5 separate regions of the Homo sapiens genome follow, and all the other regions are linked to region 2. Evidence: promoter capture Hi-C in 16 types of primary human blood cells and fetal thymus (Javierre and others, 2016). All regions are on one chromosome and are shown on one strand. Each heading gives the region's core, a stretch centred on a gene start or on the middle of the fragment in contact. The rest is flanking DNA. Distances are from core to core; before and after follow the strand shown.

Region 1 (2,700 bases), core at 163-2,662, 76 kb before region 2:
TTTCTTTAAAAATTACCCAGCTTCAGGTATTCCTTTATAGCAACTCAGAACAAACTAACACACCACCAAAAGCAGGAAAGGGCATCAAATTCTAATATTCCTCCTTCCTCTCACCCACATACATATACCCAATCTCCTCTAATTCCGACTTCCACCCTGAACATGCAGAAGAGATCTCCTGTATATGACTAAATAGTATGGCATTCTTTCCTTGATAAGAGCAATTTCCTTCCATAAAGATGTTTTGTTTTTTCTTTTCAACTTTTCTTGAGCAAATGGTATAACTATCAATAATAGTCTTTCTTGTGTTTATTTTTACCTCAAAAAAGTAGTGAATTAAATGTATTTTTAATGCATGCCTTCACCTTTAAGGGGCTTACATTCTGACAGGTAGGCAAACACAAGTCTATAAGTAGCTACTTCGAGAAGAAGGTATAATGGAAACATAAACCAAGTATTGTGGGTAAAAGTCTTTTATATGAGAGGAAACATGGAAAGACTTCAGAAAATCAGCCTTTATTTCCTCTATTTTTGCAGTGTTTGTGGATAATTCATATCAATTTGGTCTATTGTTGAACAAGCTGGTATATGAAATAAGGTCTTACCTCCCTCTCTCCAGTTGCCAGATGAGCCTTTTAGGAGACTGGACTTTCTTTTTTTTTTTTTTTTTAATTATTATACTTTAAGTTTTAGGGTACATGTGCACATTGTGCAGGTTAGTTACATATGTATGTATACATGTGCCATGCTGGTGCGCTGCACCCACTAACTCGTCATCTAGCGAGCATTGGGAAGGGTATATCTCCCAATGCTATCCCTTCCCCCTCCCCCCACCCCACAGCAGTCCCCAGAGTGTGATGTTCCCCTTCCTGTGTCCATGTGATCTCACTGTTCAATTCCCACCTATGAGTGAGAATATGCGGTGTTTGGTTTTTTGTTCTTGCGATAGTTTACTGAGAATGATGATTTCCAATTTCATCCATGTCCCTACAAAGGACATGAACTCATCATTTTTTATGGCTGCATAGTATTCCATGGTGTATATGTGCCACATTTTCTTAATCCAGTCTATCATTGTTGGACATTTGGGTCGGTTCCAAGTCTTTGCTATTGTGAATAATGCCGCAATAAACATACGTGTGCATGTGTCTTTATAGCAGCATGATTTATAGTCCTTTGGGTGGAGACTGGACTTTCATGTTTGCCAGATAGTCCTGGAAACAGGTTCCCCTAACCAGCACTCCAAAAACCTCCTATCCCCCAACCTCAAATCATTTTGGATTGAGAATAATTTCTCATATCTTTAAAAGCTTCTAGAAAAGAAGACTATTAGTGGAATGAATAAGTGTTTATGCCCTAAAAGAATTAGTAAACTATCCTGAATATGTCTGTCCAGTAAACCAGAGCTGAATGAGAAAATGCTAAAACATTCTTGCAACAAGTCCCCTAAGTTTCTTCTCTGCCTGAACAGCATAGTTCATCAGCCTAATAAACAGAGTCAATCTCTCTTCCTGTAAGCTTTGTTTTTTGTAGAATAATAAATCAAGAAAAATATATTAAGCCCTTACTATATACTTAGCTCTGCATTTGGAATAGAAAAAGTACAAGACACAGCTTTAAAGAATTTACAACCAAGCTGAGGCTTTAAAGCATTTACAATATACCAGGGGAGTAATTCAATGTGTTGGTTTTGAAGTCTTTCCTTCTTTTTTTAATTTACTTTTTTAAATTACAGTATAGGTGACAAAAATTATATATATTTACAGTGAACAATGTGTTTTGATATATGGATAATGTTATGAAATGGTTAAATCAAGCTAATTAACATATCCATCATCTCACATACTTATCACTTTCTGTTGTGAGAACATTTAAGATCTACTCTCTTAGCAATTTTCAAGAATCCAATACATTGCTATTAACTGCAGTCACCATGATAGACAATAGATCTCTTGTACTCATTTCTTCTGTCTGAAATTTGGAAACTTTGACCAGTATCTCCCCAGTTCCACAACCACCCCTCAGCTCCTGGTAACCACCATTCTACTCTCTGTTTCTATGAGTTCGACTTTTTAAGATTCCACATAAAACTAAGATCATGTAGCATTTGTCTTTCTGTGCCCGGCTTATTTCACTTAGCATAATGTCCTCCAGGTTCATCTATACTGTTGCAAATGACAGGATTTCCTTCTTTTTAAAAGCCAAATAGTATACCATTGTATATATATCTGTGTATGTGTCTGTATGTGTGTCACATTTTTTCATTATCCATTCATCCATTGATGGACATTTAGGTTGATTCCATATCTTGGCTATTATGAATAATGCTGCAACGTACATGAGAGTACAGATATCTCCCTGATATGCTGATTTCAATTCCTTTGGATATATACCCACGAATGGTATTGCTGGAGCATATGGTAGTTCTAATTTTAATTTTTTGAGGAACCTCCATACTGTTTTCCATAATGGCTGTACTAATTTACATTCCCATCAACATGTACACAGGGGTTCCAAAGGCTTCTCTTCAGGCTAGGTTGAAAGCTGACTAAAGGAAAGTTAAGGGTAACTGAAGGCAGAGTTAATATCAAAGGAGGACTCAACTTACCTTTATACCCATAAGTGAGAATATATTGAGAGAAGAGGAAGCATCCTAGATGAAGGAAGAAGAGGGGAGTATTTCAAGACTGATTATTTCCA
Region 2 (2,700 bases), core at 1-2,500:
AGCTGCTGGGAGAGGTTGAGCTGGGGATCCCTTAAGATCAGGAGTTTGAGGCCAGACTGGGAAATATAGCGAGACTCCATCTCTAAAAAAAAAAAAATTATGTAAATTTGATTACCTATATATGGGTGTTTTTCCTCTAATAATTTCAATTTCAGATAATCTGTTACTTTAGAAAGCATAATTTTGTGAACAGCTGAGAGTCCCAGTACAGGAAAGCCCAAATCCTTTTGTTAAAACTATTCTAAAGCTTTTTTTCCTCTCGGGCTTCTAGTTCACTGGCTGTCAGCCTTTTGCGAGGCCTCTCCTGTTCCTCTCATCGATGGTAGTTTTTGACCCTCACTACTGTGTGGCCGTTTTGCTTTTTATCTACACATAAAACAGCATTTATCGACAGCAGTCTACATCTCTTTCAGGGAAATAACAAAAGTGGCTTTATCTTTTACTTTCAAAACTGGTTAGTGGTTTTCTTTGCAGGTTTCCCTGGGGCCTTTGGACTGGATTCCATTTTATTTTCCTTTTTATCAACACGAGAATCCGTCCTGGTCTTACATCCTGGAGGGCTTTTGGCTGCCTTAATTTACAGCCAAATTAGTTTGGCCTTTTCTATAGCTGGTTTACCAACCTTCTCATCTTTGCAAAGCTTCTGGGTCAGATGTGGGTCTGGGCCCCAGGACTCCTGTGTCGGCCTGACCTTTCACATAATCACTGCAGAGTTTTTCATCTATTTTTACATCACGGGGGCAGGGGAGTGGAAGCTACTTCCAGCAACAGCTCTCGGTTAATAACCAGTTTCTGCAAGTAGCAGCAGCAGCAGCAGCGTAGGGTCACGGTTAGGAATTTGGGCTTGGGCATCCAAGACTTGGCCCCAACTTCCAGTGAATTACTTCATTTCTCAGCTTCTCGGTTTCTTCAGGCCTAAAATGAGGACAAAAATACCTACCTTTCACGGAGGTGGATGTGGAGACTAACAAGGCGATAAATGTTAAAGGTATTCGAGAGAGAGAAGCCCGTGATAATGAATGACTACGATTTTTAAGCCCACAGCCAGGTTATTCCCAGAAGTTGGCCCTCCGCACCAGACCCCAGCAGCCCGCAGCCCGCCTCGGGCGAAAGGCCTCCCGGGCTCCTGCGGCGCAGCCGCGCTGACGACTTGTCGAGTAGCTCGCCGCCCTGGAGGAGCTGGGGGCTCGCGCAGGCGTCAGAGCCGGGCAGCGCGCGCCGCAAGACTAGCGCGCAAGCGCCGCGGCCTCAGGCGAACGAACGGGCGGTGTAGTGCAGGTCCGCCATGGCTGAGGCGTCACGGTGGCACCGAGGCGGTGAGGGGTCCTCTTAAGGAGTGGGAGGGACAGGGGCGATTTGGCAGTTCCAGACACCCTGAAAGGAACTCTGCGGCCCCAAATTCGTTTGAGAGATGTGACTGCCGACACCTTTAGCCCTCACAGCCTCCCCTGGGGAAGCGGAGAGGGACAGATGGTCCCATTGCACAGACGGGAAAACTGAAGCCCTGAGCGAGGTGGCGCTCGCCTCTTGCCGGAGGCTCGAGCTGGGCGTTGTCACCTGTCGAGTGACCGTCGCTAGGCCGGTCTCTAAAGTCCTTGGTTGATCTGGGGAGTCGTGACCTTGACAGAATTCAAGCCGAGGTGTTTTTCCCCTGTCCAGCAGAAACCAGCCTTCCCAAGAAGCTGTATTGAGGGTGGAGAAAACGGTTAGGACAGATGAGAGGTTTTACTTGTTTCGTATTTTGCTTTTTCATCTTAAGACTGGCGAGAAGACATCATGATATAAAATCTGTTAGTGGCCGGGCGCAGTGGCTCAAGCCTGTAATCCCAACACTTTGGGAGGCCGAGGCGGGCGGATCACAAGGTCAAGAGATCGAGACCATCCTGGCCAACATGGTGAAACCCCATCTCTACTAAAAATACGAAAATTAGCTGGGTGTGGTGGCGCGCGCCTGTAGTCCCAGCTACTCGGGAGGCTGAGGCAGGAGAATCGCTTGAACCGGGGAGGCGGAGGCTGCAGTGAGACGAGATCGCGTCACTGAACTCCAGCCTGGCGACAGAGCTAGACTCCGTCTCAAAAAAAAAATCTGTTATTAATAGTATATAGTAAAAAAATTATCCCTGCCTCGTAAAACTAAGAATTGAAAAATAGCCAGAAGCTATTGGAGCTTTCCTCCCCGCAGTGTAAGGACTAAAAGTGGCTGTGGTTTTTCCATTGTTGTCACTTATAAATTACATAATAATGTAAAGAAAAATTTTGTCTTATATCTCACAGGGGCTTCGAAACATAAGTTGCATTACAGAAAGGAAGTAGAAATTACAACCACACTTCAGGAATTGTTACTCTACTTTATTTTTTTAATAAACCTATGTATATGTAAGTACACAGATATAAAGATGCTGTTTGTTTGAACTAAGAAGTTAAAATGTGGAGATGAAAAATAAAACATACAAACTTCAAAACCACAGGCTGTCAGGCTACTAAAACTCAAAATACAGTGACACGTTTAAACATAATCTTAAATTCATTTAGATTCATTTCATTTAGAAATTGACTATTTTCAGTTCTTAAGGGGCAAAATTTTACATCGCAAATGTAAGAAGCTTCCATAGTCAATACTGACTGAATTAGAATTATTCCTTTCATTTGGCAGTTCTGTCTTGAGCATAATTCATCCCTTGGGTTGGCAACTGCAATTTG
Region 3 (2,700 bases), core at 11-2,510, 93 kb before region 2:
CTGCCCATGTGCAGTCACCATTGCTCAGTGACAGAGCCTCAAAGCTTGGCCAGGGCTGAAGGTACCACATGGGTGTGGGTGAGGCAGGCTAAGTTGGATGGCTGCAGTGCCCAGCTATCATATGTTATCTTTTTTCTAAAATATTCAAAATTATGTATAAAAATTCAAAGACAAAATACAAATTATAATTAGCAATTACCAAATTTTAAGTAAATTTATTATAATAAAGTTTAAACTTTAATGTGATTTTTAAAAAAACTAAGTCCTATTATGTATTTTTACAAAAACAGAACTACTCACAATTCTAGAGTTCAAGGCTCATCCACGGCCAATGTCCAGAATATCAGGACCTTCATATATAAAATTTAAGAGTAATATGAGTTGTTTAACATTGCAAAATATTCCTCAACTGCCATGAGCCACTGTTACAAATATCATCCTAATTTATATCTCCAGAACTACATACTGGAATACAAAGAGAAACAAGAAAATGGATGCTCAGCAGCCCTGGGAAATGATACCTCAGTGTGCAAGAATCTACTCCATTTGTGCTAATTAATTTGTCTTTTCCCTCACCTAAGAACTTCTGTCACTCAAATCCTCCCCATACTCCAAAGCAGTGTCCATAACCAGCATCAACAGCCCATAACCTTCACGGCATTCACACAGAATCACTTTTTGCTTCAATGGCAGACGGGAAGAGATGGAGGAAAGTGTTATCTGGAGCCTGAATGGTGTTAGTCACTACAGTGGACATTTGGATTACAAATCGTACTATGCCACTTAGTGCTGGATCTTAAATGACACTTATGTTTTAAACATTTGTGATATGTGCATCCTTTAAGTATAAGATCCAAAGTAGGGGGCCCTGTCACCCAGGTCTTAAGGTGATACTCTAAACTTTAGGGAATATTTCATCCAGGATCTACTGAAATCTAAGAAAAAAAAATTTGAGCAGATTGATAACAGCTTTTCTTTTTTAAATGTATATAATGAGAGAGCTGTTAACAAAGTCAAAAGAGTTATTGACAGAAGTAAAGATGGCTGTAGTGGGGGAGAAAAAAAAACAGGAAACCTTTCTCTACCAAGTTTCTGCAATAATTGACTAATTATAACATGGATGACTGGGAGTTTAGAACCTACTACTCGTATTTTTCAATCTTAACTTTCCCTAATATGGTAAAAACATGGCTTCAGAAAATCATCTCATGTCTTAATTCATGCTTACAAAGGTATATCAGATTAAAGGCAATAAAACGTATTTTATAACTAAAAATAAAACACACGATATAATGAGAGAGCAGAAATCAATGGTACAAGGGCTCTGGAGAGATAAGAAAAGTCAGATGCTCAGTTCTTTCTTTGGATACTTTTATCAACCAAACTGCCTGCTGTATAAGATTACTGGCCTATAAATTAACTTTTGCAATTAAAGCAGTGAATTTTAACTTGAGGCAAACAGAACCCTATTGTTCACTAAGTTTTATCACCAACGATTACAGGACAGAGAGATCTATATCTCCAACACTGTATGCTTAAAAAGAAACAAAACTTGTTTTTCAATTATGAAAGTAATATATGTTCATTATAAAAAACTTGAAAAACTACAAAAATATAAAACAGTATAAAGTATGAAAGTCACCCATAATCCTAACCCTAAACTATTAACATTGTTATATTTCCCTTATTGTGTATACTGCTCTGCATATTTGAGATCATACTGTGAATCATGATTTTATACCATCCATTTTTCATTTAACTTTATATCATAAACATTTCTCATATTTTATTATTTCTAAATATCATTTGCAAGGGCTGCATAAGTCATGTGCAGACTTAGAGTACCCTCTAATTTGCTTAACCATTCCCCTAATGTTGGAGGTTTAGGATGATCTTTGGTTTCTTACTACTATAATCACACTGTGATGAATATCTTTATTTATAAATCTTTATCTGCATTTCCTAGTATTTCCTTAGGGTACAGCTAGACTATGGAAACCAAGGAAATAAGTATTTTTTAAATATCTTGAATGTTTGTCCCCAGTTTTTTCTAATAAGGTATTCTACATTATATGTCCACCAATAATGTATAAGGTGCCCTTTTCACCCTCCATTATCAATATATCAGGTATTCATGACTTTTTTCCAGTATTTGATTAACTGATAAATGAAAATAATTCATTGCTGTTTTGTTTTCTATTTCTCTGACTACTAGTGAAACAGAACCTTTTTTTGCAAATATTTGTTAGTCTTTATTTGCCCTTCTGTTAATTGTCCATACATACTAACAGATACTAATCTATTTTCTTGGTGATTCATATATATGCTTCATAAAGAAAAATACTGTCTTTTGCATCATATTTCTTATAATTATTTCCATTTTTGTGTCTTAACTTATATATTGATTTTTTTCAAGAAAGTTTAAAAATTTTTAAATAGGCATCTCAACTTTTCCCCTTGTATTTTATTTTGAGTTTAAGCTTATTCATTTATTCATTCATTCAACAAATATTCACCAAAGACTTGCTATGTGCCAGAAACTATGCAGGAACACTAAAGATACAGCAGTAAATAAGACGTATTTTTAGCCTTCAAAGAGTTTCCATTTGGCCAGGCAAGATGGCTCATACACCTGTAATGCCAGTGCCTCAGGAGGCCAATTCGGGAGGACTGCTTGAGACCAAGAGTTTGAGACCAGCC
Region 4 (2,768 bases), core at 178-2,677, 97 kb after region 2:
AAGAAAATGTGTACCTTTCACAAAAATCCACACTTTTATCTTGCTAAATTAGATTATTAAATCTGCTATGTTTTTGTCTCCTCGGGATGTTGTGAGGGACCATGTTATCCCCTCTAAAAATGTTCATAAGCGAATAAATAGCTTTTAAAATAATTTATGGGCCGAAATAATCATTTCCCTTGTAAATGCACACTCTCACATAATAATGACACATCTGTCCTGATCAAATACAAGTCCAGTACTAGACACTACAGTGTCCAACACCTTATCAAGTAAAACAGAAATAGCTTCCTACTGCAGAGTTGTCATCTTACAGTTTAGAATATCCAAAACACTGCAGTTTTTGTTTCAAAGATGATACCACTACCCTCAATAGAACATGTGTTCCCCAGTGGTGAAAATAAGACTATCACCTGAGCAATGGGTATAGGTTTACAGGATCCCTAGCTAAGCTAAGGACAAACTCCAAGAAATCTGCTTACATCCTTTGAAACATTTTCCCACTATTTCTAACACTTAGATACTGATTTTTTCCTTCACATTCTGCCCAAATACTCCCAATAGATCCAGTTGTATACATGCTTTTTTTTTTAATGTTTTTCTTTCTCTTTTCTTTCCCTCTCCCGCCTTTTCCCAGTTGTATGCATTCTAATCATGCCTTCAAAGTACACAAACCAAGGCCATCAAATAGAGCTGCACTGGCTGGCAGTGCCATCCATGGCACGCTTGCAATTGTACTATATGGTATTCCAAAAATAAACATTCCCAGCACTGGTTTTCACATCCATTTACATTTTTCATTTTATATTTGATAGCTATTCTAGTTAGCCCTTTTAAAAACTGTCTTAAAAAAAAAACCACTCCCCAATTATCTTTTTTTTTCCTTTACCTTCCTATGAATCTTCTAGATTTGGGTACATTTTTCTCATCTTCCCCCCCCCAAAAAAAATTGATATATGAAAAACATGAAATCACTGCACCACGGTCTCTGAGGGAGGCACACAGGTATCCTGAAATACAGGACTGAAGTAATAGAAAACAAAGAGAGGCTTTCCTTCATTTAAAGGTAACAGGTCAGATGAAGAGTGGAGTAACATCATGCATTATAAGTACTTTTAACTAATACACATTTAAATACAGGTTGATTATTCCTTGTCGGAAAAGCTTCGGACCAGAAGTGTTTCAGATTTGTTTTGTTTGTTTTCAGATTTTGGAATATTTGCCAGTTAGCAACTGGCTCATAAATTATTTTAAAAGCCATTCATTTGCTTATGAAAATTTTCAGAGAGCATGACAAACAAGGTCCCTCACAACATCCCAAGGAGAGGTGCCAGACTGGCATCCCTAATCTGAAAATCCAAAATCTAAAATGCTCAAATGAGCATTTCTTCTGAGTATCATGTCAGTGCTCAAAGTTTTGGATTTGGGAGCACTTCAGATTTTGGATTTTTGGATTAGGGATGCTCAACCTGTATTAAGAGTTAATCTAACAAAAACATAAGCAGGGGAGAGGCTGGTGGGAAGGGATAACTATTTAAATAGCAAAGGATGATTCTGCCCACCATTTCACTCAATGATTATATGCACTATAGTGATATCAATCTGCTGCCCCTGTAACTGTCTGTCTAGATCACTCTGTTGCAGAGTCTAATTTTTTAAAGTTATTTTTCATACAACATAATTCCTAAAGGTAAGCTTGTTACTTCATTCGATGTTCAGGGGAAAAAAAACAACAAAAAACAAACAAACCTGTATTGGACTTAATAAAACATATATTATGAAAAAAGTGATGAGATATCCAGTGTTAAGTATGGATGTATATACAAGTATATATACAAAGTCACTTTTCACAAACAACTTTCAGAAATCTCCAAGAAAGATGAGATCCTGTTATTTAAGTAGCAATACAGTTTTAAGATAAAACAATTTTATAACATTTAATAAACAACAGTAAAATGTTTCTTACTGGTTATTAGATCCTTCCCCATCACAATGAATACTTTCTGCTTCATTATTACACACCACACTTTGCTGTTGTAAATTCTTAAGATCATGATCTATGCTGCTCTGAAGATCAAAAAGGTGCTGTTCCACAGCTGCTCTAATTGTTCTTTCTAAAATACTACAAAACAACACGTTTTAGTAAGAAGCAGTCACTCTAACTGGATATCTGGTGACACAGACATAAATGCTAAAACCTATGACCAGTAAAACTATTATGGTACTTAAATGGGTAAACCAAAGTGTAAAAAGAAATACATAAAAGGAATACATGATACTGGCTTAAGTTTTAAAAGTAAAATTTACCCAAACAGACAATCATATACAAATCAACCATAATGTCACTATTATTACTGGGATGGGAAAGATCAGTTGTCCCTATAATTCACTCCTCACTACACAGAAAACCACTAAATAAGGCTTTTCAAAGCTATACTTATAAAGCAAAATAACCTACTAACAGCAAAATGAAAGAAACCATGAGTACTGCTCACACTTCTTATGTAAAGTCTACTTTTTTAAAACTTATATTCTATGAACATTTTTCAATTATTTCAGAGGATTCAAAAAAACCATCTGAAGAAAGCTCATCTTTATTTTGTATAGTAATGCAATGGGTTTCTTCTTCATTTGTTCCTATCACAGTACATAAAAAACTAGTTTACTGCCTGTGTACAGTCTTTCCTCTAAAGTGAGCACAAGTACATTATTTTCATTTCTACAGCTTAGTAGTATTTTAAAATCTTAAAAATTTGTCTTCTATAAAT
Region 5 (2,700 bases), core at 78-2,577, 130 kb after region 2:
TCTAGACACCTTCCCAAAATAACTAAATGAATGAATGATCAGATGATATTACAACATAAATGCAAATATCACCCCAAATACTACCATACCTAGCTGCACAGCTATTAAAGAAACGGGTGTATATGTGCACACATACATACACATGCTAATGATTATCTATGTATAAGTGGAAAATAGAAGAAAACAGTGAATTTCTCATATTAAACATGAAAGCACTTATTGACCATAAGCATTTTTGCTTTTTTTTGCACATCTCTTTTGCAAATTTTTGCATATCTTAAATTCCTTCACAAGTGAATGTTAGCATAAGAATAAGTAACAAGATGCGTATTGTAATTCCATGAATATCAACACAGTACATGGTGCTGTCATAATTTTAAATGAAAACCAGGCCATGGCTAAGACTGAAACTTTTTCAAATAGGGTAAATGCGCAATTTTTGAAAGAAAAGAAGGGGTAGGATTGGTTTACAATTTATGACCAGAAAGTTGTGTCTTTGAAGAGGAACTTAGTTGTCCCAACAGTACATGATGCTGTCATAATTTTAAATGAAAACCAGGCCAGGTACAATGGCTCACTCCTATAATCCCAGTGCTTTGGGAAACTGAGACAGTTTGGGAAACTGAGACAGGAGGATCACTTGAGCTCAGGAGTTCAAGACCTGCTTGGGCAACATAGCAAGATCTTGTCTCTACAAAACATAAAAAATTTTAAAAAATTAGCCAGGCATGGTGGTGCGCGCCTGTAGTCCCAGCTACTCAAGAGGCTGAGGCGAGAGGATCACTTGAGCCCTGGAGATCAAGACTGTAGTGAACTAGGATCACACCACTGCACTCCAGCCTGGGCGACAGAGCAAGGACATTTCAAAAAAACAACAACAACGAATAAATGAAAACCAACTGAAATGACAATCCTAGTGAAAAATAAATAGCTTCTGATAGATTCTACCAGTGAGTCAATGACTTTGCTTCCATTAAATCTCACTGCAATTATTAATTTATAAATTTTCATTCAGGACTGAAAGATTATCTGACTCTTGGAACTTTAAATATGTGTCTGCAATTCAGCTAACAGAGGGAACATGGAAACCTATCACTATAAAGAGAATGGCTCTAGAGTTATTTTAAAAGGCTCAAAAAACCTTTACCATATTGGTTTCGGTTCATATTTAATAAATGCAAAATGCTTATTATGTGTCTCAACATAAACATTTGAAAAAATTCCTGTAATAATAAAATGGATTCAAAAATTCAAAACAAAAAAGCGTAATTTTGGGGGGAGAAAAATTAAAGTGATGCATTGAAAAAAGGGTAGCCTTACTAATAACATTTCGTTTTAAAACCTGTTTTTTGATCCAGATTATAGAGTAAAAGAACAGAACTGAATCAGGTTACCCCTTCCTGAATATAGCAAGTTCAAAGTAAGCCTTATGATTTAGCTGTACAGAAAACATGTGTAAGAGGGTCACAGAACGTCTTTGCATTGACCTTTATACATAAATCAAAGACATCCAACTAACTTAGGCTCACAGTTTAAAATTTAAGAAAAAGACGGATAAACACTTTCGAAAGAAAATATACCTTCTCTGACAACATAATACTTAAGGATATATACACACATATTATAGAATGCCCAGCTGTGATAGAGATAGGCATAAAGGAAGTAGTTATAATTTCTTAGCATAACTGAATTTCTTTAGAAGCCCCGATTCAAAAAATAAATGAACTCCATAATACCAAAAAAGCCTGAAAGGGTAATTTTAAAATTCAAGAAATATATAACTCTATATGCCAACTTTACACATTTTCCTATATAATGAAGCATGTCCCTCCATTACATATACATGAATACCATTTGGCTCTAGGAACAGAAGCATTTCCTCACTTCTTGGTTCTTTGACCTTTCTGCTGCCTCTACCATTATTTTTCCTGTTCCTGTTCCACTCTAGCTAAGCACTACTTTTTAGTCACCACCAAAAAAACCTAACAAAGATACATCTTTTTTTGTTTCTTTAGCTTAGAGTCTAATGTTCAATTTGATATTCATTTCCTTTAGCTAAGTGTTCAAGAACAAGTTTTAGGTATATTCAAAGCCTAGAATCAAAGTTGTCTTCTTCCTTTTGCTAGGAAATTCTATCAAACCAGGGATAAGTAACCCTAATAGTGGTAATATCACCACTAAGCAACACCTTTGGCTACTATTGGACATTGTGCCACCACACACATTACCTTACATAAATTTCTCTTCTTTCTTTTTGATGACCCCTCCTACTCCTTGTTCTTGTCTCCTCCCTTTCCTCTTCTTCACCCTGTTTCTTAGGCTAATAAAACCAATCACAAAAAGTAAATAGTACTAGAGGGATCCCGGAAGTTGCCTTTCCTATGACAAGATCATACAACCCCAAAAAGCAAATGAGAAAATAACAAATTAATCTCTAAAATACTATACTTACTGTTTACATGTCAAGATTTCTAAAAGGTAAAGACTAGGAAATTAACAACAAATGACCAATTGATAAGTATCAAATTATGTTACCTTGAGAAAGCTGCATCAAGTGAATATGTAAACTGCCAGGGATAACAGGTTCAGGAAGTTCTTGAAGAAAAAATCTAAGAAGGCTAATAGCTGAGGGAACATCTGCTTCCTTAACCAAATCCACCTCTTCTCCGCTGTCGTATCTCTGCCGAAGCCACTCCACTG

Evidence for each region. Contacts are between HindIII fragments. The CHiCAGO score rates a contact against its expected background, and 5 or more counts as called.
Region 1: a contact is called between a fragment that was not itself captured here and the fragment with the promoter of PKD2L2 in region 2, in 4 of 17 cell types (M1 macrophages, naive B cells, total B cells and 1 more). The highest score is 6.8, in M1 macrophages.
Region 3: a contact is called between a fragment that was not itself captured here and the fragment with the promoter of PKD2L2 in region 2, in 3 of 17 cell types (M2 macrophages, M1 macrophages and naive B cells). The highest score is 9.3, in M2 macrophages.
Region 4: a fragment that was not itself captured here is called in contact with the fragment with the promoter of PKD2L2 in region 2 in 2 of 17 cell types (naive B cells and total B cells); the score reaches 6.5 in naive B cells.
Region 5: a contact is called between a fragment that was not itself captured here and the fragment with the promoter of PKD2L2 in region 2, in 1 of 17 cell types (total B cells). The highest score is 5.9, in total B cells.

What each region holds. Positions count from the first base shown.
Region 1 is chr5:137,811,725-137,814,424 of GRCh38, forward strand. No RefSeq gene overlaps it. Among named protein-coding and RNA genes, the nearest start is that of MYOT, 55 kb to the right of the region's middle. The HindIII fragment of the contact is 208 bases long and covers 1,309-1,516 here.
Region 2 is chr5:137,888,207-137,890,906 of GRCh38, forward strand. PKD2L2 (polycystin 2 like 2, transient receptor potential cation channel) reads left to right here and starts at 1,251. Exons shown (of 15, transcript NM_001300921.2): 1 at 1,251-1,316; 2 at 2,275-2,376. The coding sequence starts at 1,286. It overlaps PKD2L2-DT (PKD2L2 divergent transcript), which reads right to left and starts at 1,113. Exons shown (of 4, transcript XR_948815.3): 1 at 941-1,113; 2 at 1-82. The HindIII fragment of the contact is 1,963 bases long and covers 639-2,601 here.
Region 3 is chr5:137,795,106-137,797,805 of GRCh38, forward strand. No RefSeq gene overlaps it. Among named protein-coding and RNA genes, the nearest start is that of HNRNPA0, 42 kb to the left of the region's middle. The HindIII fragment of the contact is 2,436 bases long and covers 43-2,478 here.
Region 4 is chr5:137,985,495-137,988,262 of GRCh38, forward strand. FAM13B (family with sequence similarity 13 member B) reads right to left here. Exons shown (of 24, transcript NM_001385994.1): 9 at 1,967-2,122. Among named protein-coding and RNA genes, the nearest start is that of FAM13B-AS1, 46 kb to the right of the region's middle. The HindIII fragment of the contact is 531 bases long and covers 1,163-1,693 here.
Region 5 is chr5:138,015,767-138,018,466 of GRCh38, forward strand. It overlaps FAM13B (family with sequence similarity 13 member B), which reads right to left. Exons shown (of 24, transcript NM_001385994.1): 4 at 2,536-2,700. Among named protein-coding and RNA genes, the nearest start is that of FAM13B-AS1, 16 kb to the right of the region's middle. The HindIII fragment of the contact is 4,772 bases long and covers 1-2,700 here.